Linked DNA regions of Homo sapiens: regions 1 and 3 are each linked to region 2. The links are contacts of gene promoters, found by promoter capture Hi-C in blood cells and fetal thymus (Javierre and others, 2016). All regions are on one chromosome and are shown on one strand. The core of a region is centred on a gene start or on the middle of the fragment in contact, and the rest is flanking DNA. Distances in the headings are between cores, read along the strand shown. Region 1 overlaps ENAH (ENAH actin regulator). Region 2 holds the start of PYCR2 (pyrroline-5-carboxylate reductase 2). Region 3 holds the start of ACBD3 (acyl-CoA binding domain containing 3).

Region 1 (4,112 bases), core at 445-2,944, 300 kb after region 2:
ATTTGATGTGTGCGGTTAACAAAAGCCAATGAAGAATTTGGGAGATTGAGTGACTGGGCCATTATGGTGTATATGTAAAATAATCTTAGTGGTTGATTAAGAGATAGATTTAGGCCGGGCGCGGTGGCTCACGCCTGTAATCCCAGCACTTTGGGAGGCCGAGGCGGGCGGATCACGAGGTCAGGAGATCGAGACCATCCCGGCTAAAACGGTGAAACCCCGTCTCTACTAAAAATACAAAAAATTAGCCGGGCGTAGTGGCGGGCGCCTGTAGTCCCAGCTACTTGGGAGGCTGAGGCAGGAGAATGGCGTGAACCCGGGAGGCGGAGCTTGCAGTGAGCCGAGATCCCGCCACTGCACTCCAGCCTGGGCGACAGAGCGAGACTGCGTCTCAAAAAAAAAAAAAAGAGAGATAGATTTAAAGAAGTAATTCCCATGGCCATACTGAGTCAGAAGGGTGATAAGTATAATGAGAATGGTTGGTGTGAAAGGTCACACCAAGGTTCTGGAATTTGGTAATAGGATGATAGCATTGTCACTCTTAAAAAGATGATTAGGCAAGTGGACATGGGTGAAGATTTTCCCAAGGAGATTTGTTTTAATTCGGGACACATTTTATCAAATGATAGTATATCACCATAAGGAAGGAGGCTTTCAAAGACTACAAAGGACTATCTCCACACTTTTTTTTCTTTTTTTTTGATGGAGTCTAGCTCTGTTACCCAGGCTGGAGTGCAGTGGTGAGATGGCGGCTGACTGCAGTCTCTGCCTCCCAGGTTCAAACGATTCTCTTGCCTCAGCCTCCTGAGTAGCTGGGAATACAGGCGCCCGCCACCATGCCCAGCTAATTTTTGTATTTTTAGTAGATACGGGGTTTCACCATGTTGGCTAGGCTGGTCTTGAACTCCTGACCTTGGGTGATCCGCCCACCTTGGCCTCCCAAAGTGCTGGGATTACAGGTGTGAGCCACTGCACCCGGCCCTATCTCCACATTTAAGGAGCTTATGATCTGATTGAAGTGAACATACCTTCAGAAAATAAGATAGATCTGATAGAAAGTAGCAGGCTGAGATTGAGGCTCCAGATTTGGTAATTGTGTGAAAACAAGAATGAATCAAGTATCCCAAGTTGCATGGAAAAGTAGTGGGTTTGTATTAGAGGCCTGGGACATTTTTGAGACAGTTTTGCTCTTATTACCCAGGCTGGAGTGCAGTGGCCGATCTTGGCTCACTGCAACCTCCGCCCCCTGGGTACAAGCGATTTTTCTTTTCTGCCTCAGCTTCCCAAGTAGCTGGGACTACAGGCATGTGGCACCACGCCCAGCTAATTTTTGTATTTTTGGTAGATACGGGGTTTCACCATGTTGGCCAGGCTGGTCTCAATCTCCTGACCTTGTGATCTACCTGCCGCGGCCTCCCAAAGTGCTGGGATTACAGGTGTGAACCACCGCGCGAGGCCTGGTACTTTTCTAGTGACGAAGTGTTGAAACCGCTGGTGGTCACATTGAAAAGCATTCAGAGATACTAGATCACATTACATCTTAATTGCAGATAGTTCCAGCTTTCAAATCAGATTTTTGGTAGGAGCTTAGCACATATCTTTCTGTGGGAACTGTGTTATAATGAGGGCTAGTACGTTCTCAAGTAGTACACACAAGGCCATTTAATGCATCGTATCCTTGAAGTATGTGTTACACTATTAGGCTAAACTGTAAGAAATTACTGTTTTTGGAAGTCACAGATCACCAGATGTTGGCAGTTTCACATGGTTCAATCCGGTACATTTAATTATCACCAGACATTTTTTTTTAGCTTAGTGAATTTTTAAAATTTATTATCATTTATGTACTTTTTATTTCAATACTTTTAGGGTACAAGTAGTTTTTGGTATCACCAGACATTTGATGTCTATAATTTATTTGGGAAGACACTGAGACTGCAGAATTGACCTGATAGCTGTGTTTTAAAAGCATTTCTCTGAGACCATTCAGGGTTTTAAATTGGGATGTCTGAGACTGAAGGCCCTTCTGCCCCAGGGATTCTCCTTAATCCCAAGTTTCTGATGGGTTTTCTCTCTATAGTCATCCTCCTTCCCCTGATCCCCAAAATAAGACTAGGGAGGTGGGAGTATTTTAGGGTGGTGTTTCTCTTTTCTGTTTTTGAGATGGGGTCTTACTCTGTTGCCCAGGCAGGAGTGCAGTGGCAGGATCTCAGCTCACTGCAACCTCTGCCTCTCAGGTTCAAGTGATTCTCCTGCCTCAGCCTCCCGAGTAGCTGGGACTACAGGTGCTTGCCACCATGCCCAGCTAATTTTAGTATTTTTTAGTAGAAACAGGGTTTTACCATGTTGGCCAGGCTGGTCTCAAACTCCTGACCTCAAGTGATCTGCCCGCCTTGGCCTCCCAAAGTGCTGGGATTACAGGCGTGACCCACCGTGATTGGCAAGGGTGGTGTTTTGCTAACTGTAGGTTAGTTTTTCTAACTGTAGGTTTTTAACAGGATTTATCACAAATGAAAGACAATAGAAAATATTCAGGAAACATTGCACATGGTAATGGCAAGTGTTTCATGAAACATTTAGTGTCTGTGCATTTGTGTGTGTGTGTGTGTGTACTGGGTTGTATATGCAGTGTATTTATTTATCACAGGCCTTAAACATTTGAGTAATGCTGATTTGGGAGATGAATTGATGTAGGCTTGGCATCTTGGGGATAGAAGGTAAGCCATTGTAGGGGTCCTCGGACTTCTTTAACCTTTTGCCCTCCTATTGTGGGCCAGAAAGTAGGCCTTCTCTCTCTCCACTGGTGCCATCAAACTCCTCTGAACTCTGGCTCATGTCTTTCCTTTACCTGCATGTAACGCAATGTAATTTAGTATAGAGTAGAATCCTTTGGAATTTTTTTAAAGGTGATTCCTGGTAGTTGCTGGTATAAAGGTGGTTAAAAACAGAAAACCTAAAGCACAGAGATAGTGTTCTCATTTAAGTGTTTTAAGTAGAACATGAAACTTTCTAAGTTGAGTTTTTGTAGAGTGATCACTGAGAATTCATCTATATTTCAGAGGAAAACAAGAAAGACTGGTAGGTAGGCACTTGATAGATTTGTGGAATGGGTGGAGACAGTTCTGAGCACCTGTCTAGGATCAGTGAACTACGTATTAGTGAATATGAAGCAGAAGTTGATAGTAGGAACAGAGAGGTGATTATCTTCCCCTTTTTTTCTGTGCTGTACTATCTTGGAGAGGTGAGGAGAAAAAGGTTCCAAATTGGCCACTAGATGATTGAAAGAAGTCCCTGTGGCCAATTTTGTATCTGGATGACCATTCTTTTTTAAGTGAGATGCGTGAACCTTTCATATAAAGAGCTGCTGGCAGGATATTGTTTTATTAGGTTTTAGGGATATTGGCCCATGGTTCACTTTTTCTTTCTCCCCAGTTTTTGGAAAAGTTGATTGCTAGTAAGGCTGATTGCTTTCAGGGAATTGTCATTTTCCTCCGGGGGATGTTTGGATGAGAATGGAGACCAGTTTGGCAAGGGCAACAGCTGTTGAACAATCTGTTTGGGATTAGGTGCAAGTTGGTATGTAGTGGAAATCTGCCTCCTGGTTCCTGAAATTATGTTCCTTTGCCTCAAGGATAAATGTTTTCCTGCTCATTCCAGTTACATTCACTTAGTTCTGGCTGGTAATGCTTCTGACTGATAACTTTCCTCTTTTAAGAGAGCTTCCTTGAAAGAATAATTGATAGCTACGATGAACAATTAAAAATGTTATGCCTTCCCTTAAGATTTTGCTCAGGATTTAATCATAGGTTGGTGGTAACAGAACCTTTCAGTTCAAAATTAGCTGTATATTATCTAACCATTTTGGTAAGGGGAGAGACTTAAGGTGCTTTCTGATGGTTTAGATGGCAGTATCACATGAGATTTATTCATATTGTGTGTTGGAATGTAAATTCTAATGACCTTTGGAAGCATTAGTAGTAAAATTTACTTAGCTGGCTATTCCTAAGCTTACTAGTGAGTTGGAGTTGCATGCGTGAATCATACCTCTGACCAGTTGTGATGATACAAATTAAGTTGAGTTTAAGGAAGAGACTAAATTAATTGCCATCCTG
Region 2 (4,153 bases), core at 300-2,799:
GCTCACGCCTGTAATCCCAGCACTTTGGGAGGCTGAGACAGGCAGATCACCTCAGGTCGGGAGTTCAAGATCAGCCTGACCAACATGGAGAAACCCTGTCTCTACTAAAAATACAAAAAATTAGCCGGGCGTGGTGGCGCATGCCTGTAATCCCAGCTACTCAGGAGGCTGAAGCAGGAGAATCGCTTGAACCCGGGAGGTGGAGGTTGCAGTGAGCCGAGATCGTGCCATTGCACTCCAGCCTGGGCAACAAGAGCGAAACTCTGTCTCAATAAATAAATAAATAAATAAATAAATAAAACATAGCATTATTTTGCTTAATAGTAAATATTATATTTGGTCCTCACTTTAAAGGGTGCACAAACTGAGGGCCTGGGGACTTGCTCAGGGAAGTTCACAGAAAGCAGCCCCTTGCCTGGGAGTGGGGGTGTGCATTACACGGAAAGGACTAGAAAAGCTAGCAGAGAGACCATGGGAACTAAGGGTCCTCAGCTCTTCTGAGTCCTCTAGGAACGCCACCTTCTTCCTCTCTACTTCTGTCATTTGTTCCCTGCGGCCCCTTATATTTACTACTGATAGAAAAGGAAACATCACATTGGTGGAGCTTTTAAAAGCAAGAGACAGGTCGGGCGCGGTGGCTCACGCTTATAATCCCAGCACTTTGGGAGGCCGAGGCGGGCGGATAACCTGATGTCAGGAGTTGAAGACCAGCCTGAACAACATGGTGAAACCCCGTCTCTACTAAAAATACAAAAATTATCCGGTCGTGGTAGCGGGCGCCTGTAATCCCAGCTACTGGGGAGGCTGAGGCAGGAGAATCGCTTGAACCCGGGAGGCGGAGATTGCAGTGAGCCGAGATCGTGCCACTGCACTCCATCCTGGGCAACAAGAGTGAAACTCCGTCTCAAAAAAAAAAAGGCAAGTGACAGCAAGGGGCTGGGGGGTGCGGGATCGCGGAAGAGTCGGAGACTCGAACTTGTCCTTCTTGTATCTAGTTTGGACAAATTCGCGAGAAACACTCAAGTTCAAGTGAATAAGCCGCGGCTGACCACCCTGGTGCCGCCTCGCCGCCACCTGGTCTGAACCTCGCCGCCACCTGGTCTGAACCTACGCCAGGAGGGCCTCGTTCATCCCCGCAAATCGGCAACCTGGAGAATTCCTGTGGGCCTTGAGGGGCATCTGATGGCCAGCGCCAGAAATAATATTAGCCAGGCCTGGGCCAGGCCTCAGCCCTGAGCCCGAGGTGGCTTAGGGACGGCGACCTCAGCCTTGGGGTGGGGGGGGGGGGTGGGGGCGGCCGGGCGTCCTGGGCCGGCGGGCGCCTGGAGCTCACGCCAAGCTGCCACAGGGGCTTCCGGGACTCCAGCCCGGAGTTCCGCCCTCCAGTCGCGAGCGGAGGAGGCGGGCACGCGGCCTGGCTCGGGCCGCGGATTGGCCTGCCCCGAGATCCTGGCCACTGATTGGTCGCCCGGACGGGGCGGGGCCACGTGGCCTAAGGCGCCATCAGCCGCCCGGGAGATATCCGCCGGGGGAGAATAGGGTTGCACCATCCCAGAAGCTGCTGTTAGCTCGCCGGTCCTCGGCACGCCGCCCGTTCGCCCCTGCGCTGTCCGCCCTTCCCCTAGCGTTACTTCCGGTCCCTCGCTGAGGGGGTTCGTGCGGCTCCCAGGAGGCGTGAACCGCGGACCATGAGCGTGGGCTTCATCGGGGCCGGCCAGCTGGCCTATGCTCTGGCGCGGGGCTTCACGGCCGCAGGCAAGCGCGTGGAGGCGGGAGGCGGCTTCGCGGGCGGTCCCGAGGCCCGAGGGGGCCTCCGTCCCACCAGCATGAGCGAATGAAAGGGGAGTTTGCGTCCGGTGGGGTAGATGAGACTCTGGTTGAGCAGCAAGTGCGTCTTCTGTCCTCGTAGAGGGTTGAGGGGGAGAGGGAGACTGGCACTGTTAGGACGGCTCTGGGTTTTAGAGCCAGGGAAAGCGTGGTAACGGGCTGGGCCGCGACCCCTAGTTGAAAAGCTCTGTCTTCTGCAGGCATCCTGTCGGCTCACAAGATAATAGCCAGCTCCCCAGAAATGAACCTGCCCACGGTGTCCGCGCTCAGGGTAGGTGGAGCCGGGCGGAGTGGGAAGCGGGTGGAGGCCCAGGAAAAGGATGACCTGAGATGAAGTGAGTCTGGCCGGCCCCTGCGCCCAAGTGCTGGTCTTTGGCCGGCGGTGACCTTTACTCCAGGAACGTGACAATCTTTCCACCTTCTCTTGGGCAGCTCAATGTGGTGGGAACACCCAGGGAGACATAACTGGGGGTCAGATCCAGACACTGGAGTGGTAGAGGATTAACTGAGGTGATTATGTGATGAAAGCACCTGGCACATAGTAGGTACCTAATAAATACTCATTTTTTAAATTTTTTTTCAGACAGGGTCTTACTCTGTCGCCCAAGCTGGAGTGCAGTGGCGCGATCTCAGCTCACTGTAACCTCCGCCTCCCACCTCAGCCTCCCACCTCAGCCTCCCGAGTAGCTGGAATTACAGGCATCCACCACGCGCAGCTAATTTTTGTATTTTTGGTAGAGAATACTGTTGGCCAGGCTGGTCTCGAACTCCTGGCCTCAAGTGATCTGCCCGCCTTGGCCTCCCAAAGTGCTGGGATTACAGGGGTGAGCCACTGCGCTCAGCCATTTTTCTTAATAGACGAGTTGTATGACCTTAAAGTACTCAGCCACTTTGAGGCTATTTCCTCATTTACAACAGTGGCCACTTTGCTGTTATTCTGAGTCGTGAATGAGCATATTGGGAAGAATCTGGTGAGTTAGTTGTTCTGTTCTCCAAAAACATATTCCAAGTCTTCACCCAAAACCTGTGCTCTGTGGGAGAGGATGGCTGATGAGGCAGGTGACAGGCAGTGTCTGTGCCTAGGGTGGGCTGATGTCCCTAGCACTGGAGGGTCCTGCTTCTCAGTTTGGAGTCATAGAGGGATGGATGGCTTCCAGCCTAGCCCTGGACCACATGGAGACTGTGCGGTCCCCACGAACAAGCGGCCAGGGTTAGGATAGGGCCTGACTCAGCTGTGCTTTTAACGACCAGGTATTAGCATTTCCCTTTGCCCTGCCACTTTCACCATAGGGCCTTCTTACCTGGCAGAGGAGTGCCTTAGATACCAGAAGATTGGCAGGGAAGAAGGGCAGCCACTTCCTGGTTACCATGGAGAAGCTTGTCATGCTCCAAGCCTGTGCTTACTTGTCCAGTAGCAACAATGGGAAACTGTATTATTTGGGGTAGGGGTAGAACCCTGAGGGCATAAAGCTAAGAATTCCAGGCTGCATCTGGCAGAATCGGTTTGGCAGGGGTTCAGCTGCTCCCTGGGAGGCCTTGGCATAGCCAGGCTGCTCCAGCACTGTGAGCTGGGAGTCTCCTCTTGCAGAAGATGGGTGTGAACCTGACACGCAGCAACAAGGAGACGGTGAAGCACAGCGACGTCCTGTTTCTGGCTGTGAAGCCACATATCATCCCCTTCATCCTGGATGAGATTGGGGCCGACGTGCAAGCCAGACACATCGTGGTCTCCTGTGCGGCTGGTGTCACCATCAGCTCTGTGGAGAAGGTGCCCATCTCAGCCCTGATGCCCCTTGTGTGAGGGGAGGGTTGACCCACGAATGGCAGCTAATGGGTGGGTGCTGGTGGGAGCCGTGCCCTGGCCACTCATTCGGCTCTCTCCCTCACCCTAGAAGCTGATGGCATTCCAGCCAGCCCCCAAAGTGATTCGCTGCATGACCAACACACCTGTGGTAGTGCAGGAAGGCGCTACAGTGTACGCCACGGGCACCCATGCCCTGGTGGAGGATGGGCAGCTCCTGGAGCAGCTCATGAGCAGCGTGGGCTTCTGCACTGAGGTGGAAGAGGACCTCATCGATGCCGTCACGGGGCTCAGTGGCAGCGGGCCTGCCTATGTGAGGCCCTCATTTGCTCGCTCAGCCTTCTAGGAACCCAGGCAGCAAGATGGGCTGGCAGGCAGGCTTGGACTGGGGGTGGCGCCCACCTCTTGGGCACAGCTGGCTGGTACAGGATGCTGACCCTTGGAGCTAGTTCTAGTCATCAGAAAGCAGACCTAAGGAAAGGCCCTTCAGTGCCTATGGCCTGGGGCTTAGTGAGTGTCTCCACA
Region 3 (3,778 bases), core at 623-3,122, 260 kb before region 2:
TGAGTCTGTCTGTATGTGAAGTTATATGTCTTATCCACCGTAATGAATGAGATCCTGTCTGAATGCAGCATACAAATCTTGTCCTGAAAAAAACCCTCGGCCAGGCGCGGTGGCTCACGCCTGTAATCCCAGCACTTTGGGAGGCCGAGGCGGGCATATCACAAGGTCAGGAGATTGAGACCATCCTGGCTAACACGGTGAAACCTCGTCTCTACTAAAAATACAAAAAAATTAGCCGGGCATGGTGGTGGGCACCTATAGTCCCAGCTACTCAGGAGGCTGAGGCAGGAGAATGGCGTGAACCCTGGAGGCGGAGCTTGCAGTGAGCCAAGATCGCGCCACTGCACTCCAGCGTGGGCGACAGAGAGAGACTCCGTCTCAAAAAAAAGAAAAAAACTCTCTAGGGCTTCAGTAAAAACCACACACAAAATTGTCACTGAAGCAGCCAAACGGCCATAAAAATCTCATAGCACATCCATGAAACTTGAGAGAGGTTTCCCAAACTGAACAATAACCCTAAAAAAGTACGTTAACAATATCAGTAATGAGTTGTGATGCTGAAATAAATTTATAAACAATTATTAAGAAACAAATTTAATCAGCCATGCTGGAGAAAAGACTGATCTTTCTCTTTTCTTTATAGAGAATTACAAAATACGCCGGGCGCGGTGGCTCTCACCTGTAATCCCAGCACTTTGGGGAGGCTGAGGCGGGCAGATCACATGAGGTCAGGAGTTTGAGACCAGCCTGGCCAACATGGGGAAACTCTGACTCTACTAAGTTTACAAAAATTAGCCGGGCGTGGTGGTGAGCACCTGTAATCCCAACTACTTGGGAGGCTGAGGCAGGAGAGTTGCTTGAACCCGGGAGGCAGAGGTTGCAGTGAACCGAATTGCACCACTACACTCCAGCCTGGGTGGCACAGCAGGACTGTCTGCAAAAAACAAAAAAAAAAAAAAAAAAAAAAAGTTACAAAATAATTGTTATAGGAAAAGGCAATCAGAAGTACGCAGCCAAAACAAAGGTGGGAAAAATGATCATAAATGGTGCTCCCAAAGTCTGGAAACACAGGTGAATATACATAATGTCGGGGGCGACTTCAATCTTTTAGAAAAAAATAGGTTTCTGGGCTCTCAGACGCCCTGTAGAAGAATATCAGGCAGTCAATGAAAATATTACGGTTATGTGTGTGATGTTTGTGGGTTTTATTAACTTTTAAAATATCATTTGTTTTTTCTTTCTCTTTCTAAATATACATTCACTTTCCTACCCTTCTGCGCGTAACTTTTTGTACTCTTTCCTAATGAGGGTCCCCACAAATTGTATGAGCTGCGCTTCCTGCAAAACCAGGATCAGCCCCGTCTGCAACCTCAAAGTCACTGAATTTCTCTGCAGTCTCAGTTTCCCCTTTTAAAAAAATTGGGAATTTGCCCTGCATTTCCTTAGAGTTGCTGTGAAGGCCAAACGAGATGGTGGTGGGCAAAAGAGCTCTGCCAACCACGCAGGCCCCTGCAAATGTGAAGGGCCTCTGACCTGGAGGGTTGGGTGCTGGCCGACCTCGTCAATCCTCCCTACTCCGACCCCCGCGCGGGGCTCCACTGACCCCGCCCCTGCTGGGCACTGACAGCCGCAGCACCGAACCGAGCGGTGGGGGTGGTAGCACCCGCCCACCTGGAGCAACTGGGATCCGAAAGGATGGGGTGCGGGGGAGGGGAGTTCGGGACCAACGGGAGTTGGGGAGCCTGAAGGGTGGTCGCTGAGCCAGGGCAACTGACGATTCCGGAGGGGGTGGGGCGCCAGGCCTCAGCCCCTCTCCCGGAGCCCTCCAGCCTCCTCAGCAGCGGAAGTTCCGGTGTCGGTAAGCGGAGGTCAGAGGTCAGCAGGAAGTCGATACGTGGCTGCCGTCTGTCCCCGCTGAGGAGGTGCAGCAGCCGGAGATGGCGGCGGTGCTGAACGCAGAGCGACTCGAGGTGTCCGTCGACGGCCTCACGCTCAGCCCGGACCCGGAGGAGCGGCCTGGGGCGGAGGGCGCCCCGCTGCTGCCGCCACCGCTGCCACCGCCCTCGCCACCTGGATCCGGTCGCGGCCCGGGCGCCTCAGGGGAGCAGCCCGAGCCCGGGGAGGCGGCGGCTGGGGGCGCGGCGGAGGAGGCGCGGCGGCTGGAGCAGCGCTGGGGTTTCGGCCTGGAGGAGTTGTACGGCCTGGCACTGCGCTTCTTCAAAGGTGAGCCGGGCCAGCCCCACCCCCGCCGCTTCTGCCCGGCCCCGGGAGCCCGGCGTGGGCTGTGGTCCCCAGGGTGACTGGACCAGACTTGCCCTCACCCACTCATACTGGGCTGTGGTGACTCAAGCGGGGTTCCCTCCTTGGGGGTACCCGAAGTTTGTCACTACCCGCTTGGCCACTAGGTCACACCCCTGACGGGCCTGCAACCTTGGTTTAGCAGTCATGTCCCGCCTCCCAGAGGTTACCGGGACATTTTACCTGATTTAGCTTCTGGGATTTCCAGGAGCCCTGGTGGAAGAATGAGCCCACTTTCTTCCAAAGGATCCCATTCTGGGATTGCCTTTTATTATTATTATTTTTTTAACTGACGCTTTTCTTTTCCTATTTCCCATGGCTTGTCACATCAGAACCCGCCGATTTTTACCCTTAGTGGAAGAAATCTGTCAAGAGGTTCCATACATAGCTTTTCCAGCCATTCTTGGGAACCATAAACTGGAACAGGACTTGATCCCCCGGCAGATTGATGTGGCAGAGAGGAGGAAGTAAAGTGTTAAGCTCATCATCCTCTCCGGCTTGTCAAACTCTTGAGGAGAGATGTCCACTATGTTCTAGTAACTTCTAGGTGGTTAAAATTTTACATTGTAAGCAATGTGCAAGAGTGAATTCTCAGAGTAAGGCCTAACAGTACCTTCTGTGCTTTTCGCATAATTAATTGTTAAATGTCTCTTGTCTTAGAGCAAGATTGTAGTGTGCGGTTTTTTTTTTTTTTAATTGGGTGATTCACTTAGTCGAATGGTGGAGAGACCAATCACATGATTTTTGTCAGTGGGAAAAACTGATGAAAGCCCGTTAGTTTGATTCTTAAAGATACTTAGTCTTGTAGGGCGAATGGACAGGGAGGGACATCAGCAAATGCAACTTTAAAAGTGGTTGCTAGGTTCCACGTACATTCCAGAGCAGCATATTTATGACACTTTCCCCAGAGGGAGTACCTTTTGGAGTACATATTTTACTAGCCAAAGTTGAGTAGTTCAATGTAATGATACACACGGAAGTTGTTTTCTCTCAAAATAACTTTAATTGTGCAAACTAGTGAAAGTTTTATAAATTTTCCAGAACATTTGATCATTTCACATTCAATGACATATTCGTGGTCATTGCACAATGAGTTGAGCCCTCTGTGTACTAACTAGCTTGGGGAATTGGTAATGGCTAATGGGTTTTGGATCATTTGACTTTTAGATCACCGGCTTGAATTTAGAGTTTGCTGTAGTGATGATATATTACCACTTGATAAAAATCAGGTGGTTTCTGTACAATTCATATAGCTACATTCCATCTTAAATTTTTATTCTTGGAACTTATTTTTCAGTAAAGTATATTGTAGCAGAGAGTAAGAGTAGAAATGAACTAATTCCTTTTTTTTTTTTTTTTTGAGCTGGAGTCCTGCTCTGTTGCAGGACTGAGGGAGGCTGAGGCAGGAGAATCACTTGAACCCGGGAGGCGGAGGTTGCAGTGAGCCAAGATGGCACCATTGTACTCCAGCCTGGGCGAC

Evidence for each region. Contacts are between HindIII fragments. The CHiCAGO score rates a contact against its expected background, and 5 or more counts as called.
Region 1: a fragment that was not itself captured here is called in contact with the fragment with the promoter of PYCR2 in region 2 in 1 of 17 cell types (naive CD8 T cells); the score reaches 6.5 in naive CD8 T cells.
Region 3: the fragment with the promoter of ACBD3 here is called in contact with the fragment with the promoter of PYCR2 in region 2 in 1 of 17 cell types (neutrophils); the score reaches 5.8 in neutrophils.

The regions. Positions count from the first base shown.
Region 1 is chr1:225,617,592-225,621,703 of GRCh38, reverse strand. All of the region lies in intron 1 of ENAH (ENAH actin regulator), which reads left to right. Among named protein-coding and RNA genes, the nearest start is that of ENAH, 33 kb to the left of the region's middle. The HindIII fragment of the contact is 4,631 bases long and covers 1-4,009 here.
Region 2 is chr1:225,921,646-225,925,798 of GRCh38, reverse strand. PYCR2 (pyrroline-5-carboxylate reductase 2) reads left to right here and starts at 1,549. Exons shown (of 7, transcript NM_013328.4): 1 at 1,549-1,755; 2 at 2,028-2,098; 3 at 3,416-3,595; 4 at 3,720-3,941. The coding sequence starts at 1,689. MIR6741 (microRNA 6741) reads left to right here and starts at 3,657; the gene lies at 3,657-3,719. RefSeq lists silencers at 1,203-1,282, 1,423-1,512, 1,823-1,952 and an enhancer at 1,003-1,652. The HindIII fragment of the contact is 26,114 bases long and covers 1-3,206 here.
Region 3 is chr1:226,184,835-226,188,612 of GRCh38, reverse strand. It overlaps ACBD3 (acyl-CoA binding domain containing 3), which reads left to right and starts at 1,872. Exons shown (of 8, transcript NM_022735.4): 1 at 1,872-2,223. The coding sequence starts at 1,938. It overlaps LOC101927247 (a long non-coding RNA gene), which reads right to left and starts at 717. Exons shown (of 2, transcript XR_001738504.2): 1 at 680-717. RefSeq lists silencers at 1,971-2,265, 1,902-2,381. The HindIII fragment of the contact is 12,408 bases long and covers 1-3,778 here.